3 separate regions of the Homo sapiens genome follow, and all the other regions are linked to region 2. Evidence: promoter capture Hi-C in human tissues and cell types (Jung and others, 2019). All regions are on one chromosome and are shown on one strand. Each heading gives the region's core, a stretch centred on a gene start or on the middle of the fragment in contact. The rest is flanking DNA. Distances are from core to core; before and after follow the strand shown. Region 1 overlaps TPX2 (TPX2 microtubule nucleation factor). Region 2 holds the start of ID1 (inhibitor of DNA binding 1). Region 3 overlaps TPX2 (TPX2 microtubule nucleation factor).

Region 1 (3,012 bases), core at 80-2,579, 150 kb before region 2:
AGTTTTACATTTATCATGAAATGAATTAGCCCATTTCACCAATAATAAACAAAGAGATAGAGCATTTAGGTAATTTTCCCAGAACCTCAGGCTTCTAAAACACTGTCCCACCATTCTATCAAGGAGCTTTTTTCTAAGATGTTTTCTTACCTGGTTTCAAAGGTGTGACAATAGCTTGCTGAAGATTAGCCTTTCTCAAAGGAGTTTTGCCCTGAAAAAGCCCTCCAGTTCCATTCTTCCCCAGTAACTTATTCTCCAAATTGGCCTTCTCCTCTGTGAAAAGGGAAGATCATCATTGTCTGATCAGCAAGGAAGCAAAACAAATCACTATCACGCATTTAAAATGCAAACTAAAGCTCCCTACCAGTACACTTCCAACTCATGTGGCAAGTACAAGCAAAGTTCTAGCAATCAAAAGAAAAAGTACACATTACACATCCGAGATAGACTATAAGAACAATCACTAAAAACTGGCAACATTGAACAATGTATTATAAAAAAGGAAAAGTACAGATTCTGCATTGTGAATAACTCCTTATCTTTGTTTGGTACACATTTAGGGTCATACAAATATGAACTGGCTTTATCTACTCCCTAAATATATCATGTTCCTCTTAAAGAAAACTGTAACCAGCCGGGAGCGATGGCTCACACCTGTAATCCCAGCACTTTGGGAGGCCGAGGCGGGTGGGTCATGAGGTCAGGAGATCGAGACTGTCTTGGCCAACATGGTGAAACCCCGTCTCTACTAAAATACAAAAAATTAGCCAGGCGTGGTGGCACATGCCTTTAATCCCAGCTACTTGAGAAGCTGAGGCAGGGGAATCGCTTGAACCTGGAAGGTGGAATTTGCAGTAAGCTGAGACCGCACCACTGCACTACAGCCTGGCGACAGAGCAAGACTCCATCTCAAAAAAAAAAAAAAAAAAAAAACGAAAGAAAACTGTAACCATCAAAAACTGTAGGGCTTACAAGAGATACTGTATAGTCTTACAGAGTTTCCTCCTCAGTGGGGTGGTGGGAGGAATAAGGGGTGTGTGAGGGTAGAGCAGAGCTAGGTTCTCTCAAGAAATTTTATCTTAGATTCTACTGTGCCCAGAAGTCAGTACAAAGCAGTGAAGGGTCTGTTCTACCAACAGCCTACTGATAGTTTCAGGAATGCAGTGAGACACAGCAATAACTACCCTGTGCATGTACATTCTGATTGCAACTGTGTAGAAAGATGTGACTATTTATTTGGGAAAGAAATTGGAAAGTAATATATTAAAACTGAGGTAGTTTTGTTAGCCAAAAGAACTCTGGCAAAAACAAAAAGAAAAAAAAATAAAAATGTTTTAAAACTAAGGTAGTTTTGGAAAAATAGTGGGGTCATTTTTTTTCTTCCAAATTGTATTTAACAGTATTCTTAGGCTAATCTTTTCTTTTCTTTTTTATTTTAAAGAAAAGCTTAGAAAAAGAAATCCTCAGACAGCCCAGCCATTTCCTTACAGTTCCAGTGAAGCAAGGGCATGGGGAAGATCCCCGCAGGACAGCTGGCCCTTGTATTTATTTACCCTTCCTCCCACACCACTTCCAACAGACGACTCCTCTCAGGATCCCCACTAGATGCCATTAAAGTCCTTTTCCAAAAAATGGCACCTGTCAACACATTTGGACAGTGCACTATACGGATAAGTACAGCTGCAATGGACTCACTTCTGTTCCCCACCACATATTCATAGTGATTTCTCCCGATAAGGAGGATGGAGACATGAGAGAAAGAATCAAAGGGGCCTCAACAACTAGTCTCAGATATTATTTCAAAGTAATGTAAAAATGTAACCACATTCTTACTTACCATTGGCCAAGCAATACTGTTTCTGGGAATGGGTTCTTAGTAGCATAATCCTTCCATTTAAAAATGAATTGAGGGCCAGGCGCAGTGGCTCACGCCTGTAATCCCAGCACTTTGGGAGGCTGAGGTGGGTGGATCACCTGAGGTCAGGGGTTCAAGACTAGCCTGGCCAACATGGCAAAACACTGTCTCTACTAAAAATACAAAAATTAGTTAGGCATGCTGGTGGGCGCCTGTAATCCCAGCTACTTGGGCGGCTGAGGCAGAACCGCTTGAACAAGAGTGGCGGAGGTTACAGTGAGCTGAGATTGTACCACTGCACTCCAGCCTGGGCAACAGAGCGAGACTACAGCCTCAAAAAAAAAAAAAAAAAAAATGAATTGAGGGAGGGGTGGCAGGAGGGAGGTGAGGGTAATTATAAAAGATCTTGACTGTGATGGTAGACACATAAACCAACACAGGTGATAAAACCACAGAGAACTTAATACACATACAAGTAAAACTGGAGAAATCTGAGTAAAACTGGTAGATTGTATGAATGTCAATATCCTAGCTGTGATATAATCTATCCCTAATGATAGTAGACAAAGTTTTTATGTGGCTGCCATCACTACAGACATATTTGAGCATGGAGTTTTGTTGAACACTGGTTCATCTGAACTTTCCCATAGGTCCCTAAAGCTTAAATCTGCCATTCTGAACTACAAAACAACATATGCTTTGTACTTACAATCCATTCCCCAAATACTGGGCATTTCAATTATTCCCATAATATCATGGATGACAGAATGTCTTGGTGCAGAAAGAAGTTGATATTTTAGTTCTTTTCTTGCAACCCCTTCTATTATTGAAAGGTCTTCAGCACAAAGCAAGCCACTAATCCTTAAAATAGCCAGAGAAAGCAGGCACTTACCAAACCATGAATCTATGTTTTGAGTATCTCCTTCATCATCCAAGGATGAAAAATTGATGAAATCCGAGGGGGCATCATAGGAATAAGAGCTTTTAACTTGTGACATTGTCTCCCACTTAACGCAGAAGAGCAGGTTTTTCCCAGTATTTGTACCACTTTTCTCAGCAGGTCACCTTCTGAGGAAAGAAATGGTTGCACATAAATCTAAGTAAATTCCCATCATTACTTTGGTTTTACTACCACGTTTGTAATTTTGCAAACCACC
Region 2 (2,805 bases), core at 171-2,670:
GGGGAGCAGGGAAATGGGCAGGGATGGTGGGGGAAGAATAGACTTTAAAGACACCGGAAACACTCATTCAGGCCGGTAAGAGCAACAATCCAGATGTAGCCCTCCAATTCTCCTCCCAGAACCAGCTGTGAAGAGGGTCAGGGGTCAACCCCCAGCCCAGGCCCCTCCCCTCAACCCAAGAAGTCACTACAACTTTACCACCATCTAAATTATTTGTTTAATAACAAAAAAACAGCCCCACAGAACTATTGTAAAACAATATTTTCAGTCGGTGATCATTGTAATATACAATACAAAGCAATTTCCTCAGAAATCTGAGAAGCACCAAACGTGACCATTTTTTAAAATGTCTGCTTTTCAAAAAATAGAAACACACGAGTGGAATCCCACCCCCTAAAGTCTCTGGTGACTAGTAGGTGTGCAGAGAGGAGCGCCCTCTCCTCGCCAGTGCCTCAGCCTCAGCCCCAGGCTGGATGCAGTTAAGGGCGCAGTGGCCGCCGATCGGTCTTGTTCTCCCTCAGATCCGGCGAGGCGCGTTGGGGGAGACCCACAGAGCACGTAATTCCTCTTGCCCCCTGGATGGCTGGGGTCCGCCGGTCCCTGGGGGAGGCGCTTCAGCGACACAAGATGCGATCGTCCGCAGGAACGCATGCCGCCTGTGAAAACGAGAAGAAATGAGACCGGCGGGTTGGAAGGGACGCCGCTCCGAGCGCAGCGAACGCCCCCTTCCCCAGGAAGCACGACGGGGGAGCGCTTTTTCCAGGCTCCTTAGGCACCCCCGCATAGCCAGGTACCCGCAAGGATGGGACGGAAGTGGTGCAAGCGCCCACGCCCTCTCTGGCCTCCGTTTCCCCGTCGGTATAAGGATGATCTAGTGGTCGGATCTGGATCTCACCTCGGCCGTCAGGGCGCTGATCTCGCCGTTGAGGGTGCTGAGCGGAGCCCGGACCGGCAGCCCTCGGCCCCCGGGGGTTCCAACTTCGGATTCCGAGTTCAGCTCCAACTGAAGGTCCCTGATGTAGTCGATGACGTGCTGGAGAATCTCCACCTTGCTCACCTTGCGGTTCTGGGGCAGGGTGGGCACCAGCTCCTTGAGGCGTGAGTAACAGCCGTTCATGTCGTAGAGCAGCACGTTTACCTGCTGCTCGTCCAGCAGGGCAGGCAGGCGCGCCCCGGCGCCCCCGGCGCAGCGCGAGATGGCCACGCTCTGCTCAGACAGACAGCGCACCACCTCGCCCGCACCGCTCGCTGTCTTGCCGGCCTTCAGCGCGCAGCTGGGGCCCGCGGCGGCGGTGGCGGTGCTGCCACTGGCGACTTTCATGATTCTTGGCGACTGGCTGAAACAGAATGGGCAAAGCGAAAAAAATGAGGTGGAAGCCCGAAGCAGATACGGAAAATGGAACAGTTAAGAACGTGGAATGAGAGTGCGGAGCCACAGCTTGTCTTTTATAAACACGCCACGGCCCCCGGAGGGGCGGGCTCAGAACGTTCAAAAGCAGCCAATGGGCGGCATGGGGGCGTGACCCGCGCTCCTAGGTCCAGCCTCCTGCTCGTCTAGTGCCTGCTCGCAGTGTGGAAAGACGACCCGGGTTTCAGAACAGCAAGGGTGGGTCGGTGGCAGGGCACCGGGCAGGGCAGCGGGTAGAGGCGAGGGCCGCACTGGGCTCCTCTGGAAGGAGGCAAGGAAGCTAAGCAGGCATTGCCTTATAATGAAAAGACCTCAGGAATCAGTTTTTCCCATATTCACTTTCTCACTTCTCCAGCTCCATTTCACAGATGAGAGAAATTGAGGCCCGAACGGAGAAGCGGCTGGCTCTGGATAGCCCAGAGAGCCTGGGTTTCCGGACCCTCTTGGAAGATGCTTCTCGGACCCTGATCTACAAATATCAGGACCGAAATTTAAAGCGGGCGCTCCTTTACATCTGCTCCCCTGGGCTTTCTCAATTCCTAAATAATGTTGCTGTTCGTGTTCCTGAGACCCGGAGGGCCTACCCAGATCCCTCCCGGGTGGGAGCAATTAATTCGGGAAAGTCTAGTAAGTTTGGGGCTGGGTGGCTGGGAAGTGAACTAGATAGAGCGCAGTGGAGTGAGGCTGCATTCGATTCCACCTTGAATTTGCAGCTCCTTGCAAAAATTTCCTGAACCTGCAACAGTTCGTGATTTTTTAATGTTTTTTCCCATTTTTGGCTGCTTTTTAAATTTTCTTCTCAAAGACCTCAGAGCAGGGTCTCCCTCCCACGGCGCGGCAGCTGCGGAGCTACAGTCTCCCCCCTCCCTTCCCGGGCCGGTCTGTGTCAGCGTCTGAACCAGCGGCTCAGACCGTTAGACGCCAGGCCTGTGACGTCACCCATTCATAAAACCCGGACGGACTGTCAGGCTGGCGCCGCGCGGGCGGTCGCCATGGAGACGACAAACTGGTCTAGCTAGTTCCCGTGCTCCCCCCAGCCCGTCACCTGCAGACCCCGGGCGGGAGGCCTGGGAATGCGTTTCTTGCGGGCGCGGTCGCTGAGCAAGGGTCACCTTACCTCCCCGCCCCACACCTGCGAGTCTCCCAACCCAGACCCACAGCTTGGGCCGCTTGGGGTTTCTTCACCGCTCCCCCCACCTCTCCGCCCCAGCTACCCCTTCCAGCGTGGGGAAAAAGGCCTGAGTTCTCTTTCCAGCTCTGCAGCTGAGTGAATTCAGGCGGGTCGCATGCCCTCTCTGAGCCCTAATATTTAATATCTGCTTGGTGTTTAAATAATAATCACAAACGTGACCATTATTAATTTCTTACTTTGTACAGCGGGCACTGTATGAAGAGTT
Region 3 (2,765 bases), core at 155-2,654, 180 kb before region 2:
AGGAATGGAAGAAGGATACAGGAAATAAACTCCAATGCTACGAATCACACTAAGTTTCCATTTCCCTCCACTAATAATAGCTGTAACAATCCCTTGGGGAGTCACAAAAGGGTGGGATCTACCTAACTTAACCTTAGAGGGCATTCCTTAATTGAAATCCTAAGTAAGTTCTTCTACTGCAACCTCTGGATTAGATTTTGTGTGTGTGTGTGTGTGTGTGTGTGTGTGTGTGTGTGTGTGTATGTGTGTATGTGCAAGACAGTCTCGCTTTGTCACCCAAGCTGGAGTATATTGGCGTGATCTTGGCTCACTGAAGCATTGACCTCCTGGGTTCAGGCTGCCCCCTAGTAGGTGGGACTACAGACGCATGCCACCATGCCCAGCTAATTTTTTTTTGGTATTTGTTGTAGAGATGGGGTTTCACCATGTTGCCCAGGCTGGTCTCAAACTCCTGGACTCAAGTGATCCTCTTGCCTCGGCCTCCCAAGGTACTGGGATTACAGGTGTGAACCACCACACCCAGCCTGGATTCAATTTTTACCAGTTTATACTCCAGAACATCTCCATATTCCCACTATAGTCCTTAAATCATATAGGCAGGGGCGTAGCCTGCAGAGCCTACTACTCAAATGCCATAAATTTTTACGGAAAGAAAAATAGCAACTGTCACCCTAACAGAACTGAAAATAAAGTAGGCAGGTTCGTGGAACTCTTCCTCAGATACTGCCAGTGGGACTTACTGTTGCAATTTCTCGAGCTCCTCAGCCTCCAGCTCTGCTGTACTTTTGCAGGTCACAGCCCGTGCACGGTGTTTGGTTTGCAGTACAGGAGTCTGTGGGTCTCTGCAAATCTTGGTCACAGAAGATTTGGAGGGTAACAGGTCTGTAAACAGAGATGACAGATGTTCATCTAGATCCGCAAGACCCAGTTTACTTGTAAGTGGTGATTCACCTATGTAGCCCAGAGAGGGATAAACCAACCACAGAGTGGTGGGCCCACAACAGTCAGCTCAGCTTACATTGGTCAAACCAACCAACATTCAGTTACTTCTCCCCTATTCCTCTTTTATTGAGGGGTATGACTAAGGTAGCCTTTGGGTAAACTCTACTGTCATCTTCTGAACTGAAAATCCATCCATGTCTGACAGGTTCCTTATCACTGCACGGGCCTAGACTGACTTTCTTTTTTTTGAGACAGGGTCTCACTCTGTTGCCCAGGCTAGAGTGCAGGGGCATAAAGGCTCACTACAAATCCAACCTCCCTGGACTCAGGTGATCTTCCCACCTCAGCCTCCCAAGCAGCTGGGATTACAGGCATGCACCACCATGCCCAGCTAATTTTTATATTCTTTGTAGAGACAGGGTTTCACTATGTTGCCCAGGCTGGTCTTGAACTACTGGGCTCAAGCAATCCACCCACCTCAGCCTCCCAAAGTGCTGGGATTATAGGCGTTAAGCCACTGTGCCTGGCCAGGCCTATACTTTCTATTGACAATGCCAATTATTTTGCTTGTTATTAACACAAAAAATTTTTGCTTATTCCAGCTTTAAGATATAAGGCCTTCCTGGCCGGTCACAGTGGCTCACGCCTGTAATCCCAGCACTTTGGGAGGCCGAGGCAGGGGGATCACGAGGTCAGGAGATCGAGACCATCCTGGCTAACACGGTGAAATCCCGTCTCTATTAAAAATACAAAAAATTAACCGGGCGTGGTGGCAGGCGCCTGTAGTCTCAGCTACTCGGGAGGCTGAGGCAGGAGAATGGCATGAACCTGGAAGGCGGAGCATGCAGTGAGCCAAGTGAGCCAAATGAGCGCCACTGCACTCTGGCCTAGGCGACAGAGCGAGACTCTGTCTCAAAAAAAAAAAAAAAAAAAAAGATATAAGGCCTTCCTAAAGACCAAGTAAAGCCTGAACAGAATGGCTCAAACCTGTAATTCTAGCAATTTAGAAGGCCAAAGCAGGAGAACTGCTTGAGGCCAGGAGCTCAAGACCAGCCTGGGCAACATAATGAGACCCTGTCTCCTAAGAAAATATAAAAATTAGGTAAGCATGGTGGCATGCACCTATATATAGTCCCAATTACTTGGAAGGCTAAGGCAGGAGGATTGCTTGAGCCCAGGAGTTGGACACTGAAGTGAGCCATGATCACGCCACTGCACTCCAGCCTGGGTGACGGAGCAAGACCCTGTCTCTAAAAAGCAAAACAAGAAGGAAAATAAATAAATAAATAAATAACAAAAGAAGACCAAGTGAAAACTCCCAATTTTATGAAATCAATATAAAAGCATCAAGACCACATCTTACAGAAAATCAAATGGAGAAAGTTAAAAACTATGTTAAAGCATCAATATTAAGACATCACCACCACTCATTGAAAATATTAATTTACCTGGCCAGTGAAACCTTGTCAATTTTCATAACTAATATAGAATGAATCTTTCAATTTAGGTCTTGTCACATAACAGTGGTAGATCAAAACCAAATCTATTTTAGAAATAAGCCATGTTTCAAAGATACATGTAACCATTATTTAGCTGTAACTGTACAAAGTTTTAAATAAAAATTGCATAATATAATTTCTCTTTCCTTTTGCCAGGACTAGTATTCTGAAAGCAGGACATATCAGACTCTGAGTCATATATTATTTGAAAAGTTATGCTTAATATTTAAATTTCCATTAGAATAAAGAAGAATATTTCATTATTTTCATACTATAAAATCTAACAAAATCATTTTGGCCACTAGAACATAATAATAATATTAA

Evidence for each region. The method cuts DNA at HindIII sites, captures the fragments that hold promoters and counts their contacts. A contact is called where the count stands out against the background at its distance.
Region 1: a contact is called between a fragment that was not itself captured here and the fragment with the promoter of ID1 in region 2, in 1 of the 25 tissues and cell types used here (mesenchymal stem cells).
Region 3: a fragment that was not itself captured here is called in contact with the fragment with the promoter of ID1 in region 2 in 1 of the 25 tissues and cell types used here (mesenchymal stem cells).

Annotation. Positions count from the first base shown.
Region 1 is chr20:31,757,318-31,760,329 of GRCh38, reverse strand. It overlaps TPX2 (TPX2 microtubule nucleation factor), which reads right to left. Exons shown (of 18, transcript NM_012112.5): 3 at 2,748-2,923; 4 at 151-273. The coding sequence starts at 2,853. Among named protein-coding and RNA genes, the nearest start is that of TPX2, 20 kb to the right of the region's middle. The HindIII fragment of the contact is 7,137 bases long and covers 1-3,012 here.
Region 2 is chr20:31,603,904-31,606,708 of GRCh38, reverse strand. ID1 (inhibitor of DNA binding 1) reads right to left here and starts at 1,420. Exons shown (of 2, transcript NM_002165.4): 1 at 896-1,420; 2 at 199-656. The coding sequence starts at 1,321. The coding sequence ends at 615. LOC105372588 (a long non-coding RNA gene) reads left to right here and starts at 1,514. Exons shown (of 2, transcript XR_936669.2): 1 at 1,514-1,606; 2 at 1,764-2,018. RefSeq lists enhancers at 1-266, 313-982, 983-1,653, 2,043-2,222, 1,958-2,796. The HindIII fragment of the contact is 38,824 bases long and covers 1-2,805 here.
Region 3 is chr20:31,780,366-31,783,130 of GRCh38, reverse strand. It overlaps TPX2 (TPX2 microtubule nucleation factor), which reads right to left. Exons shown (of 18, transcript NM_012112.5): 11 at 741-882. Among named protein-coding and RNA genes, the nearest start is that of MYLK2, 38 kb to the left of the region's middle. The HindIII fragment of the contact is 7,023 bases long and covers 1-2,765 here.